2 separate regions of the Homo sapiens genome follow, and region 2 is linked to region 1. Evidence: promoter capture Hi-C in 16 types of primary human blood cells and fetal thymus (Javierre and others, 2016). All regions are on one chromosome and are shown on one strand. The core of a region is centred on a gene start or on the middle of the fragment in contact, and the rest is flanking DNA. Distances in the headings are between cores, read along the strand shown.

Region 1 (4,168 bases), core at 1,158-3,657:
GCTGGAGTGCAGTGGTGAAATCTCGGGTCACTGAAACCTCTGCCCCCCAGGGGTTCAAGCAATTCTCCTGCCTCAGCCTTAGTAGCTGGGATCACAGGCGTGCGCTACCATACCTGGCTAATTTTTTTTTTTTTTGTATTTTTAGTAGTCTCGAACTCCTGGCTTCAGGTGATCCGCCCACCTCAGCCTCTCCAAGTGCTAGGATTACAGGCGTGAGCCGCTGCGCCCCGCAAATATGTACTCTTTCTGTCTGACTTCTCTCATTCAGGCATGAACCACCATGCCTGGCCATTTCGCCATTACTTTTAACGGCAAAAACCGCAATCACTTTTGCACCAACCTAATAGATCTCACAGGTGAAGCACGGTGGCTCACACCTGTAATCCCAACACTTTGGGAGGCTGAGACGAGCAGATCACTTGAGCCCAGGAGTTTGAGACCAGCCTGGGCCACATAGCGAAACCGTGTCTCTACTAAACACCAAAAAATTAGCCAGGCATGGTGGCATGTGCCTGTCTGTAGTCTCAGCTACTCAGGAGGTTGAGGTGGGAGAATCGCTTGAGCCCTAAGGTCGAGCTGCAGTGAGCCGTGATCGCACCACTGCACTCCACTTTGTCTCAAACAAACAACAAAGAAAGATACAGAAGCCATAGTTTCTTCACCCATGCCCCTGGGCATGTCATTGTTTCCCCCAGTTTTTGCCTATTACAAATAAAACTGCTATGAACACTCATGTTCATGTCTTTGAGAGGACAAACGCTTTCATTATGCAGGAATACAATTGCTGGTCACATAAGTGTGTGTTTAACTTTTTAAGAAACTGCAAACTACTTCCCAGTCTGGCCTTTTTAATTATAGTCATTTTAGATGCACTCATTTTTTTTAACCTGTGGATCTAATAGATGGTTTCTTAGACTGTCTGGACCTCAGTGTTTTCATGTGTAAAATGGAGATAATTGGCCGGGTGCAGTGGCTCACGCCTGTAATCCCAGCACTTTAGGAGGCTGAGGCAGGCAGATCATGAGGTCAAGAGATCGAGACCATCCTGGCCAACATGGTGAAACCCCATCTCTACTGAAAGTACAAAAATTAGCTGGGCATGGTGGTGTGCACCTGTAGTCCCAGCTACTCGGGAGGCTGAGGCAGGAGAATCACATGAACCCGGGAGGCGGAGGTTGCAGTGAGTCAAGATCGTGCCACTGTACTCCAGCCTGGCAACAGAGCGAGACTCCATCTCAAAAAAGAAAGGAGATAATTACATCAGTTTTGAAAGGTAGTGAAGACAGAGTGAACTAGCACATAAGCACATATGCAGCACATAGAACAGGGACTGGGACATAGTAGGGGTTCCATAAACGGTGGGTTTTTGTTGTTGTTGTTGTTTTTGAGATGGAGTCTCGTGCAGTGTTGCAATCTCAGCTCACTGCAACCTCCGCCTCCCAGGTTCAAGTGATTCTCCTGCCTCAGCCTCCCAAGTAGCTGGGATTACAGGCACGCACCACCATGCCTGGCTAATTTTTGTATTTTTAGTGGAGACAAGGTTTCACCATGTTAGCCAGGCTGGTCTCGAACTCCTGACGTCAGGTGATCCACCTGCTTCGGCCTCCCAAAGTGCTGGATTACAGGTGTGAGCCACCAGCCTGGCCAAGGGTGATTATTTTATTACAATTGAACCACAGCCATCCTATGATCTGGCCACTTACCCCAGGATACAGCATCCTCAACTAGATGGCAAAAAGCCACTTCCTTTGCACTTAGTCAGTGCTGTTAGCCTGGAGGAATAACAATGGCACCATCGATTGTGCCAGGCACTATCCTAGGTGCTTTTGTATGTTGAATCCTTGCAAAGCCCTGTGAGGTGGGTCAGTGTTTGCCTTCTGTATGACAGATGAGAAAACTGGGATGTAGTAACTAGTCATTGGCCAAGGTCACACAGCAGTGAAGTAATGGTGCTGTGATTTGAATCTATGTAGTTTGATTTAGGATCTAGAAGTTTCGCTAATGGATTACCTAGCTCAGAACTAGTGAAAGAGCCCAGTCACAAAAGCACCTCCTGATGCCCAAAATCATTTTCAGCTCCTCAGACACAGAGCCTGAAGCAAAGATTAGGTACTGTGTGATTTATAAAGGAAAGAACCTGTAAGGGATGAAGGGAAGCAAGACAGGGAGGGAAACAAGAAAAGATGTGGTCTCAGGTAAAGTCTAGCAAAAAGGCTGGCTTTGTGTACCTCTGTACGAGTCAGCTGTTGGCTGCCAGCCACCCTGTGGGTGAGGGGAATAAACTCCAGGGTGAGGTGATTCCTGAGATGGCAGTTCTCCGTAGAAATGGAAATAGTAAGCCATTCGAAGCCAACAACTGAAGCATCTGGGGGGATGGTGTTGGTGTGCTAGCCCATGAAGGGCTCAAGAGGTTCCCAGAGGCACACTTCTTGCCTGCCTAATGAATCAAGTTCTAGAACATTCTGGAACATTCACTTCCTAGACTTGTTTTGGAGAATCCTCCTTCTCACTGAGACCAGCATGTTGAACAAACCCAGCCTGTGACATAATCAAAGCATACCTTAATTTGTATCTCCCAGTGTCCTTTCTAAGATGTATTTGGTAGAGAAACATTTTCCCTGCCACTGGGTGAAATCTCCCCATTATTCTTCTGCTTGTTCTGAGGAAACAGGCAATTCTATGGTCACTTTAGGTCACAAACACAACCTCAATTTAGAAATGAGAATGTCCAGTCAAGCTTCTAACCAAAATTCCCAATTTGATTTGGGTTTAAACCTTCTCCCCTCACCCTCAGGCCTGCTTCAGGGAGGTGGTGTGGGTGACTCCTTCTCTATCTCTCCTTCCCTCACCCACCCGTGGGGTACAGTGGGGGGTGTTGGAGATGGCAAGGGGAGAGGAAGGGTCTCCCTTGAGCTGCCACCATCCTGGCTGGCTTCAAGCTGCCCCTTTCTGTCGTGGGCTCCATGGAGATGGCCACTGTCACAGGGGCCCTCTCACTCTTAACCTTGGGGGATGCATCTCTCCTCATAGGGGTCCCTTGCAAGTCCTTCGTCAGCCCTTAGGAACCCAACATCCAACTCAAGCTTCTTGCTGCTGCCACACCTCTGCCCCTCCAGGAGGCTCTAGGGGACAGGACCCAAGAGGACCCCTTGTAGGTGCTCTCTGCCAACACTGGCCCATGGGAAACACTCCAGCCAGCAGCCTGTACTCCGAAAGTCCTGGGAATGTGGCTTACCTTAGCACGCCCACACTGGCTCCTTCACCAGTTCAGCCAGGCAGCCCGTTTCTCTCAGCCTCTAGATGTCCATGCCCACATGAGACCACTGGGCCCCCTCATAATGGCCACACATTATTCTCTACATATAGTGGCCCCTCTCATGGAAGAGCCCCCATGACCCCATTCCACCCTTCCAGGGAGATGGTCACCAAAGAACTCTTTGCTTCCTCTTCCCATCCTAGGAGAATGTGGTGGGTATAGGGGTAATAGTAAATGTGGGGGTTTTGGGTAGCCATGGCCAAATTTTAGCAGCTGTGGGTTTGGACTGGGCTCTTTTTTGTTGTTGTTGTTGTTACGTAAATTAACCCATTTATTACAGGCCAGTGATGTCTCAAAGAGTAGAGGAGCGTCTACTGGTCTTTCAACTCCTTCAGGCTTCTGATGGCGGACTTTACCGTGATAGCGGAGGTGGTATTGTATGTCCAGGCACCGCCAGCCACTGTCTTCACGCGGGAACCACAGTGCCAGATCCCCGCAGCTCATCTCTTCATCTTGGTTTTGCCACAGAAAGAGCAAGTGTACTTGGCCTGCTGGCTGATTTCAACTTTCTTCACCATTTTCCAGAGGGAGGCCCCATAGCGGGTCCCGTATTTACCGACGATCCCGACTTTCTTGGTAGGTTTGGCCATGTCACCGCGAACTAGGTCCGAGCCCAGAGAGTTGGACTGGGCTTTTAAAAAACAGTTACTGGTTGTCACAGCAGAGCTTTCTAGAAACATCTTACAAGTCATGTCCACCACCCCCAGCCTCAGTTTTTTCATATCCTTACTGCGGGTGGCAGCACCTTACTGGGTGGGGGTTTGTGGTGAGGGCTGAGTGAAGTAGTGAATTTGCGGAGCTAACACTCCAGAATTCCACAATCACAGACCTGCAAATTCCATCTCCGTGGGA
Region 2 (4,401 bases), core at 859-3,358, 270 kb before region 1:
AAAGGCGTGAGCCACCGTGCCCGGCCCAGTTTTAATTTTTTTAAAGGTGAGCCAAAACATTAGTTGTGGAGGTGAAAGCGGGGTGGTACCTTTACAACCAGAAGCTTAAATTTTGGTCCTGGAATCCCTGAGGCCCTTTTAGGAAATCTGAGGTCAAAATTATTTACATGGTACTAAAACATTACAGGTTGAGGGTCCCTAATCTGAAATGCTTCAAAATCCAGAACTTTTTGAGCACTGACATGAGGAGCAAAGGACATGCTCATTGGAGCAGTTTGGCTTTTAGGATTATGGAAGCTGAACTGATAAGCATGTAATGCAAATCTTTCAAAATCTAAAAAAAATCTGAGATCCGAAACACTTCTGGTCCCAAGCATTTCATATAAGGAATATTCAACCTGTAGTTGCCTTTTTCACATTCATTCTCCCAAGTGTACAAAAGTTTGCCAGAGACCACACAATATGCGATATCCCAGAGACTGAATGCAGAAACATATGAGAATCTGTCTTCTAATTAAGCCAAACATTAAAAAAGATTTGCAAAAAGGTAGAACAATGCCACTCTTCTATTTTTTGTTTTGGAAAAGCTATTTTTCATTCAAAAATTTTGTTAGCTTGTAATGAGTTTTTAAATATTTAAAAAAATCTTAGTTTTAATTTCTAACATGGTAAATATTTATATCCTTTTGGAGATTATAACAAAACCTTTTGGGTCCTGAATTTGTCAGTGTAAAGGAAGTGCTTACAAAAAGTTTGAGAATTTCTGCCTTAGATATACTAAATAGTGTACCTTCTGTCACCATTATCAGGAAATATCTGTCACAGCTTCTAGAACTGTGATAAGGTATTTTGCTCCCTTGCTTTAACCACAGCCTTCAGATGTCACTAAATCCACACCAAACCAATGACCAGCAGAGGACTCCCACTACTACTTAAGCTTAGGGTTTTTCTAGTAAACACCCTTCCCCTCTCCCCCAAGTACAAATCACCTATTTGTTGAAGCCCACATCCCATTATCATGAATCAACCACAGCCAGCGCAGTTTTAGTAAATAGTATAAATGTATTTTGTAATTTAAACAAAAGCTTCTGTTAACATTATTGCTAACATGGCTAGACACTGTCACTAAATTTGGTGGCTCTGCTCAGGATGGTCTGAACACATGCAACATTCTTTTTGGAGCCACCTGAAAAACAAGGATTCATCATCCAGCTGAAACCGAAGACAGATTTTTTTTTTACCAAACTGGAGGGAATTTTGAAATGGCTGACCAAATCTGTGGGATACAGAATGTACAAAATTCTCTTTTAGGGTTGCTGGGGTGACAGGGCAGCTCAAAGAGGTAACCATCTATAACATCTGAAACTGAGGTATGAGACCTGTATTACAACTGATAACAAAAAAAAAAAAAAAAAACCGCCATATATTTAAAATGCTGGAGATGGTGAAGACACACACTCGTTTCAAATATTACACCCCCTCCCTCCAACTGAAGCAGCCCATTCCAAGCTGCTTACTTGAAACTGCATGTAACATGTCTTAGGATGAATAGCACCAGCAGGGGCTTATTTAGTGATGGTTAATAACTCTCTCAAACAATAGAGGGCAGGCCAGCTAGTTTATTCAAATTGAATCTAAACCTTAGATCTCTGGCTTAACAATAACAAGAGAAACCTTTATAGACACAATATATCTTGCATTAAATCAGAGACGGTTTAAATCAGTCTTGTAACTTCTAATATTCTGGGCTGGCAACTACAGCATGACAAATGTTTAGTGCAGTTACAAAATCACATTTTACTTTCCTTGGCTAGCAAACCTTAAACAAATCTGAAAAATGCACTGTTTTACAAAGGCTTTTACCATATACCCACTGCTGCCAGTCTCAAGTAATTATGGTTTCTTCATCCCCCAGGAACATTTCTAAATAAGGGGGATTTTTCTTTGATCTGCTCGCCTTGAAGTGTATGTAAGAACTCAAGAGAGTAAGTTGAAAGAATGAAGATTAACTGAGATGCCAAGAAAAGTTTTTATTGCAAGCACAGTGAGCAGAAAGAGATGTCTTCTCACACAAAGTGGCCACAAGGTCTGCCATTAACTAAATCTCTTTGACAAGCCTTCATTGGTTTAAAGCATATGAATTAGCTTCTTGCTATCAGGTGTACATCATTTCTGCCATGTGGGACATTTTCTTGGGAATATACAAGTAATACTCCATGTAGCCTGACAGGTCCTCAATGGTCACATCATCCACGAAGACTCGAGCTTGCTCAGAACAGGATCGGGGAGAGCCAGACAGAGTTCTGGCGTGCAGCGACTGAGAGTAGTCCTCAAGTGTGGATCTTCGTTCTGGAGCCAAGGGAGGGACACTCTGCAGGCCTGAAAAGGAATACACTTCCATATCATGCCATCTCTTACACTGGCATTCCTTGCCTATGCATGTGCATGGCTTGCCCTGGTTTAGCTTGGAAACTGATTGAAAGTCAGAGAGATCACTGGCTTTGAGACTTGCTTGGGGGACTTGGGTAGCGTCAGAGGAGTCTTCCTTCTTACTCTCTGATGGGAGCCTTGGAACAGAAGTTCTCAAAGGCTCAACGACTGCCCCTGTGTGATTAGCATCGAGAGAAGTAGAGCTTTCTCCTGCACTGAACTCTTTAGGGGATGAAATTCCCAGCCCACTGCTGCCATCAGGTGAGTCAGTCTGGCTTTTGTGCTTGAGTTGACTGCTGGAAGAAGACGCTATTGTACTGCAATGTATAAACTTTGGAGGATGAAGGACAGGAGACTTAGAACGTCGACGACGCTGAGTTCTCACTGCTCCTCGTGAAGACTTCCTTGTAGACCTAAAGAGGAAAAAAAATATACAAGAAGATGTTGGGATATGGAGCTGTCCTAAACAGATTCTTTATGACAGTAGGAAATTTACCTTCCCTCAGCTTTATGAGTCTAAGCTCATAAATTTCCTGCAAGAGATGCACCTTCCTCCATTTTCATGCTGCCTAAGTCTTTGTGTCTCAACAACTTCAACATCATCTTATTAGCAAGCTATAGAACGAGGTGAGATAATGGTATTTTTTAACTGAATCACCTGGGCCAAACATTTGGGACAGAACACCTGCCCTGTTCCAACTCTAAGCTTGGGAGCCTTTGACCAGTGGGTCTGAGGGAAGCACCTCAAACATACAACTGAAACCGATCCTGTGAAGCCTAAATATTGTGCCCTAAACCTGAATATAGCAGCTTCAGAACCACTGTGAGGCTAACGTTACAAATGACCATTATGCCATTACTATTAAATAGATTTCTGATTCATTTCTATCATTGGTAACAGCCAATCAATCAAAACCAAAAAACTAACAATATTTACAACCCCTGAGGTTTTCAGATACTGGGAATTACTGGACACACTATGTAAGATAACTATTTATAAAATATTTAAATAGCCAGGCGCGGTGGCTCACGCCTGTAATCCCAGCACTTTGGGAGGCCGAGGCAGGTGGATCACGAGGTCAGGAGATTGAGACCATCCTGGCTAAAGCGGTGAAACCCCGTCTCTACTAAAAATACAAAAAATTAGCCGGGCGTGGTGGTGGGCGCCTGTAGTCCCAGATACTTGGGAGGCTGAGGCAGGAGAATGGCGTGAATCTGGGAGGCAGAGCTTGCAGTGAGCTGAGATCACGCCACTGTACTCCAGCCTGGGCAACAGAGCGAGACTCCGTCTCAAAAATAAATAAATAAATAAATAAAATAAAATAAAATTAAATAAAGAACTGAATGAAAAGAAAAGATACTCAAAACTGCTAAGTGAATTAGAGACAAGAACCAAACAAGACACTAAAAAGCTAAACAGAACACAGTAATCCCATCTTATCCATGGTTTCGCTTTCTACAGTTTCAGTTACCTGCAGTCAACCATGGTCTGAAAATATTAAATAAAAAATTCCAGAAATAAACAATTCATAAGTTTTACATTGCGCCCCACTGTGAGTGGCATGACAAAATCTTGCACCATCCTGCTCCGTCCCACCTGGGATGTGAATCATCCCTTCGTCCAGGGTATCCACACTGTATATGCTACCTACCCATTAGTCATTTAGTAGCCATCTTGGTTATTAGATCAACTACCATGGTACTGCAGTGCTTGTGTTCAAGTAACTCTTATTTTACTTAACAATGGCCCCACAGTATAACAGTAGTGATGCTAGCAGTTTGGGTATACCAAGAAAAGCCACGAAGTGCTTCTGCTGTGGTTAGAATGTGTCACCCAAAAGTTCATGTGTTGTCAACTTGGTCCCGAATGCATCAGTGCTGAGACCTTTGGGGGTGATTGGGTCACAAAAGGACTCTGCCTTCAAGAATGGATTAATCCATCCACAGATTAATGAATTAAAGGGTTATTGA

Evidence for each region. Contacts are between HindIII fragments. The CHiCAGO score rates a contact against its expected background, and 5 or more counts as called.
Region 2: a fragment that was not itself captured here is called in contact with the fragment with the promoter of LINC01620 in region 1 in 2 of 17 cell types (megakaryocytes and erythroblasts); the score reaches 8.7 in megakaryocytes.

The regions. Positions count from the first base shown.
Region 1 is chr20:44,462,937-44,467,104 of GRCh38, forward strand. LINC01620 (long intergenic non-protein coding RNA 1620) reads right to left here and starts at 2,408. Exons shown (of 3, transcript NR_132343.1): 1 at 2,229-2,408. It also overlaps the pseudogene RPL37AP1. The HindIII fragment of the contact is 2,937 bases long and covers 1-2,735 here.
Region 2 is chr20:44,194,897-44,199,297 of GRCh38, forward strand. OSER1 (oxidative stress responsive serine rich 1) reads right to left here. Exons shown (of 4, transcript NM_016470.8): 4 at 1,043-2,843. The coding sequence ends at 2,156. Among named protein-coding and RNA genes, the nearest start is that of JPH2, 9.9 kb to the left of the region's middle. The HindIII fragment of the contact is 2,051 bases long and covers 1,084-3,134 here.